Linked DNA regions of Homo sapiens: all the other regions are linked to region 1. Evidence: promoter capture Hi-C in 16 types of primary human blood cells and fetal thymus (Javierre and others, 2016). All regions are on one chromosome and are shown on one strand. The core of a region is centred on a gene start or on the middle of the fragment in contact, and the rest is flanking DNA. Distances in the headings are between cores, read along the strand shown.

Region 1 (2,761 bases), core at 17-2,516:
TACTCTGTGGTCAAATTTATTTTCACATGGATATTAAAACAAGTTATTGCTACAAATGGGTTTCTGTTCTGATCCTTTTTTTGTTTGCCTCACATATCCTTTCTCTTCCACCACATTCTGCTTCACTCTCCCCGTCTCTCATCACAGACAAGAAAAATGCCACCTCCCATAGGACCCACTCCAAACCCTGTTTCCTGAATGATCAATGCCTTCCCCCATCGCAATCAAAAAAGCACTTTCTATTCTGTCTTCATGACACACTGGTTTTGACACTTGCATAGCTGTTAGTAATTCTGCAATGTGCTTGGGCTATTTGTGAGCACATGTATTTTTCCTTTATAGATTATAAACATCTAAAGAACAAGGTTAACCCAGGAGTCAAGTAAATAGTTAAATATTATTTTGACAATGGCTGTAATAGTGGACATTTGAAAGGAATACACCTCAGTATTTTGAAATTGAAATAATTTTCTAGATCCTGGCATTTCTGGACTTTCAACAGCCCACCCTTTTTAAAAATTGTGAAGACACTTTTACTATAAAGGTCTGCCCAGACCCTCTCTGATACACCTGTGTAAATGCCACGTGCATGTGAGCATGCGACAGTACGTGTGTGCACGCCTGTGCAGTGGTAATCAACCATGGTGCTAAGGTTTGAAAACAGAAAATACATCAATCGACCTCCAAGCTTCTTTCATCCCACTTCATAACATCTCAATCTCTTGAGTGCTGAGGCTTATTTTGTTTAAGATGATTTGGACTCTTCTGAGTGCAACGCAATCTCCTTCCAGCACAGCGGACCGAGGAGAGGTGAGGGGAGAGTTTTGAGGGTGGGCATATTGATCCTACGCTTGCTGAATTAAAAATGAGCCAACTGAGGACAATTTCCAGGTTGCAACACAGACGGAGCCGGAGTCTGGGTTGAGGTTAGAGGAGCCGTTAGGGCGCAGGGATGCAACAGGATTTGGGAGAAAGGGGAGAGAAAGCAAGGCCACTTCCAGGGGGCTTTCATTTTTTTTTTATCCTGGCAGCTTCCCGAGCCAGATTTCAAAAGCGATTTCAAACGTGAAGCCAACTGAAGCACTGCCTTACACTAATTGGAAGGGGAAGGGAGTGACTCATATTACACCAGCTCGCTCTTCCCTCTCGGCAACTGCTAACTTGTAGCTTTAAAAGGAAGTGACATGGGTGGGGAGAGACGTCAGCTGAGGACCACTTTTTTTTTTTTTTTCTTCCTGAAGGGTCCACCCCATGGGTGGAGTCTCGCTTTTTCTTTCCAGTGTTGGCTGACTTACAGCTCTTATAAACTAGTGGCAATTTCTGAACCCAGCCGGCTCCATCTCAGCTTCTGGTTTCTAAGTCCATGTGCCAAAGGCTGCCAGGAAGGAGGTATGTGGTCCTGGTGCCGTTCGCAGGCACCTTCCCCGCTGGGTGTGGCTGATGTTTGCATTCCTCTTCCCAGCATATTTTTCTCTCCTGGGCTGGATTTCCTTAGGACCTCTGGAAGGGGTAGGCTCCGGGGGCGGGGGGGGAGTGCAAGGCGGGCGGGGGAAAGGTGCAGGGGGCGCCTGGAGGGAGGCGAAGAGAGGCTCTGCTGGTACAAAAGGACCCTCGCTTTGTGCTGGGCCGGGTGAGCGTCCCTTTCTGGGCTGTGATTTCAAGCTGCTGTTCCTGGCTTCATTTACCCACCCACCCAGCCCCCTCCCGGGGCTAAAGCATTTTCTCTGCTATAGACGAAGCTGGGCGGGGGGTGGTGGTGGGGGGAATGTTCCTATTACATATTGCTCTCTTTTGTGTCATGCAACATGTTCTTCCGTCGCTGACGTTTCTATGGCAACCACAAAAATACTACACAATATGCAGCCCCGATATACATTGATTTATTTGTATTTTGTGTCTAGTTTGCAGCTTTCTGCTCTGCTTCTTGCTTTGGTTTGCTAAAATCCAGCATGGCTTGTGGCTACCCCTCCTCACTTTCATTTTGGTTTTTCCCTATCACAGGAGGGGTGGGGGAGGGGAGTTGTCAAGGAAACAGGCATTGGTAATTACCTCTCTATTTACCTAATTTTCGGCCTATGAATTTCTCCATATCGAGGAATTAAAAAAAGAATGCTTTGATGTTTATGTAAGTCTTCAGTGTCTGGTCTTTTTTTAGAAAACCTAAACACTTCTTAAGATAAGATATTGATCCTGTGGTCAAGCTAAGGGGGAATTAATTCCTTACAGGAGGTGAGATCATTGAAATAAAGTTTTAGAGAGCATTGGAGAATTCGCACTGATAAATGTGATATTGCCTGCCCAGGTTTGCCTAAAAGCTTAAATATTTAAAAGATGGGTCTTTGCTCTCATCTGCACTTATTTAGCTCCAAATCTTAAGTTCAACAAGTATGAGTAACAAATTAACTGCCGGGCAGGATTCTCCGTTTTTCGTTTTCGTGCATTGTTCTTAGATGGATTAGCCACGCTATTCACTCTCTTCAAGGTGAGGGTTGCTAGACTTTTTCAAAACTGTGGAAGGATTAACTCATCTGTGATTAGTCAACGACTCTCAGTTGGAAAAAAAGTATCTTGAGAGAAGGGAGAATGTGTGTGTTTGTGTGTGTGTGTGTGTGTGTGTGTGTTTAGGGAAATGGGAGGCGGGCAGGGAGAACAGGGCACATCTTGAGTTCTACGTTAAAAGGATTCCATCTTCTGAATATTCTCTATGGGGAGAAAAACTGTTATTCAGAAAAAATATGAAATGAGAAAATTATTATCTACT
Region 2 (2,700 bases), core at 55-2,554, 2.1 Mb before region 1:
GCTCTAAGGGTTCAGTTGAAAACGTCTCTCTAAAGGTAGAGCAGTTTAAGACCTAGGTTTTATGTGTAATCCTATAATCATCTCTATCTTCAATAAAAGGTTTCAAACTCAAGTTTATGTCCTTTATATTTTATGATGGGCCCAACCTAAAATGTATTCACAACTTTAAAAAACAACCGTGTTGAAGATACTTCAGTGGAAGAGCTGGCACACACACCCCCACCACCAGCAACAGCAAAAAACAAAACAAAACAAAAACAAGCAGTAAAACAAAAGGACTGTCCACAGTCAAGATACAGACTAAAGGTTAACTTGGCAAGGAATTAAAATACTCATTCTAAAACATCCAAGTCTTCATCAACTGGGAAAACCAGCACACTTAATCCTCAAATTTGTAACTAGCCAAATGGAAATTCTTAGGCTGACAAGCATATTTTTAAAAAGCTTATTCTTTGAAAAATATTTTAAAATAAAAAATTTAAAATCTCATTTAAAATTCCTAATTATCAGAAAATACATCTACTCTAAGCACGATGTTAACTTCATCAAACCAATCACTAAAGTAAAATTTTTACTAAATTTTATCTAAATTTAAAAGTAATTTTTCAGCCAAGCATTATAGGCAAAAAAAAAAAAGTAATGCCTAACCAGAAACAAAAGTCATGATCAATTTGTTTTGGACAATGACAAACCACAAAGGGGTAAAGCACAAGATGCCAAATTTCACAATTAAATCATCCAGAAAAAAAAATGTGATGGACTTCAGAAACCAATATTTTTCTTAAGTCAAATTAAGTTTATAACAAGGCTAACAATTACAGGAAGCCGCTTATTCCACACTAAGGAATAGCCCTTTTTCCTGCATGTTTGTACTGGTCTGATAAAAAACAATCAAACTTCCTCGTCATTATATTGCCCATTTTAAACATACTATATGCCACACAGAAGCAATCTTTACACTGGGGAATTGACAAGGCTAAAACTAAAGATAGCAAGACAAGAGATGGAGTAAACCACATTAAAAGGGGAAGGGGAAACAAACATTATCTAGGAGATATCATAGTGGTCTCTTACATTTAAAACGCAAACGAGTACTATTTCCAACCAGAGAGAAATAAGCCTTTGTCAGAGACAATGACATAATTGAAATTTCTGGATTTGAAAGATTAAAAATTATTAAAGCCTAAGGTTGGAAACTTGATAACAAGGAATCAGCTCTAAATTTAGAGATTTTAGATCAACATAAAAGCACAAGAAGCCTTTTAAAACTAAAGAACGCAAAAGTATGCAGCTTTTTAAATAGTATACATAAGGTGAAAGTATTTTCAAACTTTTTTTTGGAATCTCCTATAGTCTTTGAATTCGACATTTCAGGAATGCAATTTAATTTTAATTAACCCTAAATATTGCCAAGGCCTATTTTCATTTTATCGTCGATAAAGGATTCCTTCTAAACAACTGCACTCAAGAAAACAAACTTTCACCAGAAATTGTTACTAATACTACTAAAACTTTAACTTAACCAAAATATGCCAAGGAGAAGACAGTAAGAGTGTTATTTTGAAACGTCATAAAGTTGTGCCAATAATTTTAAGGAAAGTATTTTCAATGTTCGAAAACACTATATAAACACATTATGACAAATCAAATAATCTATAACTTAAGTTTCAACTAAATTTAATATAGGTCAGTCAGATTGAGTATGTTACACATTTTGTTCCAACCATTTCCATGGTTAAAAAATAACTGGCGCCCCTTAGCGCTCACATTTGGAAATACTCAATTTAAGAGTTCCAGCATTTTTTTTTTTTTTTTGACATTCCAGAAAGTTTTCTGCCTCCACAATCTTTCAAATGCCAACACAAATAGGAAAAGCAGAACCCCTTAAAGGGACAGCTCAGGTTTTCTCTGGAGCAACTTGAAATTAACAGATTTGCTGTTCCAACAGCGGAAAATGCCCATTTCAACGTTGGTGAGTGCTGTATGTTTAACATACGGAAGCAAAACGACGAGAAAGCCGTAACACCTAACCATTTTCTACTTTTAAGTTGTTTCTATGACTTTCAAGACAACAGAACTCCTGGGATTTTTCTTTAACCATTTTTTATCATGGAAACATTTCCGGCCTTTTGTTCTCTAGTGACATTCCAACTCCCCAAGCTTCAAACTCCTGTTCCCCGACTCTATTTTTAAAATCTCGAAATTCTTGCGAAAAATCTAAACTCCATTGTTCATCTCTTCAACCTGTAGTTTTCAGTTTCCTTTACACAGTCCTCCGGTGGTGCCTCTAAGCAGGAAAAAAAAACAAACAAACTCCTGGCCAGTCGATTTTCGAAACAGACTTTTTTTGTGGTCTTTTTTTTCTCTAGGCGTCCACAGAAACCCACAGCTACTAGAAATTAATACTTCAGGTACTGCTATGAGAACTTCTTAAGGAAATTCCAAAGTTGGTCAACATTAATCTTCTTGTCATTCTTCACTCCCCACAGCGCTCCATACAGCTTTTTGGAAACTTTGGCTCAATTTTATTTCGCCCTTTCCAAACGTCTCGAAACCCTGTCCTACAAACTCAGGCGGCTGCGTCCCCGGGAGCAAACCCTCCGCCCAAGTTCTTCTAACTCAGGCTGCGCTCCGATCTGTCATCGCGTTATTTCGCACTCCACCCCCCCCCCCCCCACCCCCGAAAAGTGAAGTTCAACT
Region 3 (2,700 bases), core at 58-2,557, 2.4 Mb before region 1:
GTGTATCAGTGTGAGTGTCACTCTGTGTGTGTGACTGTGTGTGTGTGTATGAGTGTTTCTGGGTGTGTCTGTGTGAGTGTGACTCTGTATGTATTAGCCTATGTCTGTGTGTATGAGTGTCTCTGGGTGTGTGTCTGTGTGTGTCTCTGGGTGTAAAGTGTGTGTCCCAAAATGCTAAAAATGGTGGCTTGGACACAGCAAACACTCAATTTTTCAAGAAATGAATAAATGACACAAACTGCCTCTCCCCAGATACCTTTTCTTTGCATCAATCTATGAAATCTGTGTATGTATATAACTGTTAGGCCAGACTTGAAAATATACATTTTCTACCACCCTTACTTGGATTTAAAATAGAATTGGCCAGAGCTGTGGTCTTCTAGTAGAGTTAATCACCTTGCCGATATATCCCTGTTGATTAACTGATGGAGTCAATGCAGGCTTTTTGTCAATTTCCCTTCCTATTGGATAATTTCTCTCCTTCAAGAGAAATTAGGGCACTAGAGACCATATACTCAAAATCCATTACATAATTTACTTTTAATCCCAAGAGAAACCAAGACTGATGAAGGCTTTGCTGTGCCCTGAAAGATTGACTCATAAGGGTTGGGGGCAGAGACGCTCACCTGGTCCAGCCCTGCTGCATCCTCATGCTTGCAGGTTCTGAGCCGGGTATCCAGTCTGCTTCTTTAAGCCAATTCTATCTGAACTGGTCAGTCTTTAACTTCTTGCATTTAAAGTTTGTGAAGAACTGTGTTTCACCCAAAATTCGTTCATTTGCTAGGACACCGTCCCTCTGCCGCATAGGACTCTGTCAGCCCGTGGAAATGGGTGCCACTTTGCAAGCGGGCAAGATGCTTCTCAGCCCACTCCAGAATGCCTGTATCTGCTGACCCTGGAAGTGCTGTCTCCATCAGGCCCAAATCCAGAAGTCCAATCTGCCCCAAGAAGGCCCTCGCTTCTCTCTGGAGTTCAAGAGAACCTTCTGGGTATTCCAGATACCTCTGACCAACCAAGGGTGAGAGCAACCCCCACAGAGTGGTGTCACATTAAATATGGCACTTAGAGAAATCTCAGCCAAAAATTAGATTCTGCAATTATGTCCCTTAGTTTCAAGGCTGCAATCCAGGAATAGTCCTGACCACTTGTACCCCCTCTTTCCCAGGAAGCTGCTAAATGCCATATAGACCATATTCACAGGGATTCAGCTTTCTTCCTATCATTGAAAAGGAGCCATCAGTGATCCCAAGAGGGGATGAGGCCTAAGGCTGGTGGAGGAGCCCAGGAGCAATGGGGGATACGCTCATTGTGGGAAGGCTGTAACTGTGGGTGAGAGTGTTCATCTTGGTTGCAGAAGGAGGACTGCTCAGGTAGAAGGAAGAGGGAGCTGTCTCAAACCAGCAATGGGGGGTCTCCAGACACAGCGACATTAAGGTGGGCACATAGGAGGGCTCAGCAAAGGGCATGACCTGAAAGCCTTCAGGCAGGATGCAAGGACTGTGTCCTGGCGAGAAAAACCATTGAGCCTTCAGAGTCTTTATAATGACCCCAAAATATCCCAATGTTGACTCAGATCTGACTGGCATTTGGCAGTCACGGTGTCCCCATGATGACATTTGATAATACCTTCCTTCCCTGCCTTCAGCCATTGCTTGCTTCGAGCTTGCTTTTGATGTCCCTCACTTTTGTCCAAAATAAACTCTCTGCCGCAGCCAGCCCTGGCGGCTTCTCTCCGGCACATGAACTTGGCTCCCATGCCCACATGCCAGTGGAGTTTCCATAAGAAGCTATGGCATCCTTTCGTGATTCATTCTCAGGATTCATCCAGACCAGCTCCTCACCCAGAAAGGTGACCATCAGGAGTGGGCGACCCAACAGCACTGAGTCCCCAACTCCAAGCAAGCGGCCCCTCCACCTCCCCTGCCTCCAGGCCTTGTTCTCGCAGTTCTCCCTCCCAGAGCCCCCTCCCTTGTCTTCCTCACCTAACAAAACCCTAACCATCTCCCAAGGCCCAGTTTAGATCCTTCTTCCTCCATGGAGCCTCCTCTGCTCGGCCCAACCAGAGGAGAGGGCTCATTCCCATGAACTTATAGAAGCCATATAGGTCAAGGAAGGAGGCTCTTCAGTTTAGCCTTTATCGGAACAGCTTCTGTGAGCTAGGCACTCTGCTTAGGGCTTTCTGGGAAGGACTAATCGAATCCTCGTTGTAGGTACTATTATTAGCTACCATTCTCAGTTGGGGAAACTGAGGCACTAAGACGACAATGGACATACCCAAGGTCACCACTGATAAGCAGCCATTCGGGTGCTGAAACCCCAGTGCACTGGCCCTAGCGCTGGGCTCTGCACCACCTCCCGGGCCACCCTCCTGTTCCTTTTCCATTGGACACTCAGCCCCACGTGGCCTTGAGTCAGCTTTGGAGTTTGTCATTCTATATGCCCATGTCACCCCTGCAACCAGAGGGCAGGGACCATGGCTCAGTGTCTAGGAATGAAGCCGGCGGGGGTCCAGAAGGGCCTGAGGACTCTGGGTCCTGCCGTGAAGCACGGGGAGGAATCTGGGCAAGCCCTTTCTCTGTTTTGCTTCAAATCCACAGACTAACCAATATTTCTGTTTAGAGGTCCCTTGAATATGTTACTCCCGAGCCCAGGAGTAAAGAGGGAAATGGCTCAGTGGCCTGGGCTCTGTCACTGAATCTA

What was found. The method cuts DNA at HindIII sites, captures the fragments that hold promoters and counts their contacts. A CHiCAGO score of 5 or more calls a contact.
Region 2: a contact is called between a fragment that was not itself captured here and the fragment with the promoter of AGPAT4 in region 1, in 2 of 17 cell types (total CD8 T cells and non-activated CD4 T cells). The highest score is 9.3, in total CD8 T cells.
Region 3: a fragment that was not itself captured here is called in contact with the fragment with the promoter of AGPAT4 in region 1 in 1 of 17 cell types (M0 macrophages); the score reaches 7.1 in M0 macrophages.

The regions. Positions count from the first base shown.
Region 1 is chr6:161,272,566-161,275,326 of GRCh38, reverse strand. AGPAT4 (1-acylglycerol-3-phosphate O-acyltransferase 4) reads left to right here and starts at 1,266. Exons shown (of 9, transcript NM_020133.3): 1 at 1,266-1,389. The HindIII fragment of the contact is 1,627 bases long and covers 691-2,317 here.
Region 2 is chr6:163,416,031-163,418,730 of GRCh38, reverse strand. All of the region lies in intron 1 of QKI (QKI, KH domain containing RNA binding), which reads right to left. Among named protein-coding and RNA genes, the nearest start is that of QKI, 2.7 kb to the right of the region's middle. The HindIII fragment of the contact is 1,716 bases long and covers 447-2,162 here.
Region 3 is chr6:163,662,742-163,665,441 of GRCh38, reverse strand. It overlaps LOC102724152 (a long non-coding RNA gene), which reads left to right. Exons shown (of 2, transcript NR_134620.1): 2 at 785-1,076. Among named protein-coding and RNA genes, the nearest start is that of QKI, 250 kb to the right of the region's middle. The HindIII fragment of the contact is 4,562 bases long and covers 1-2,700 here.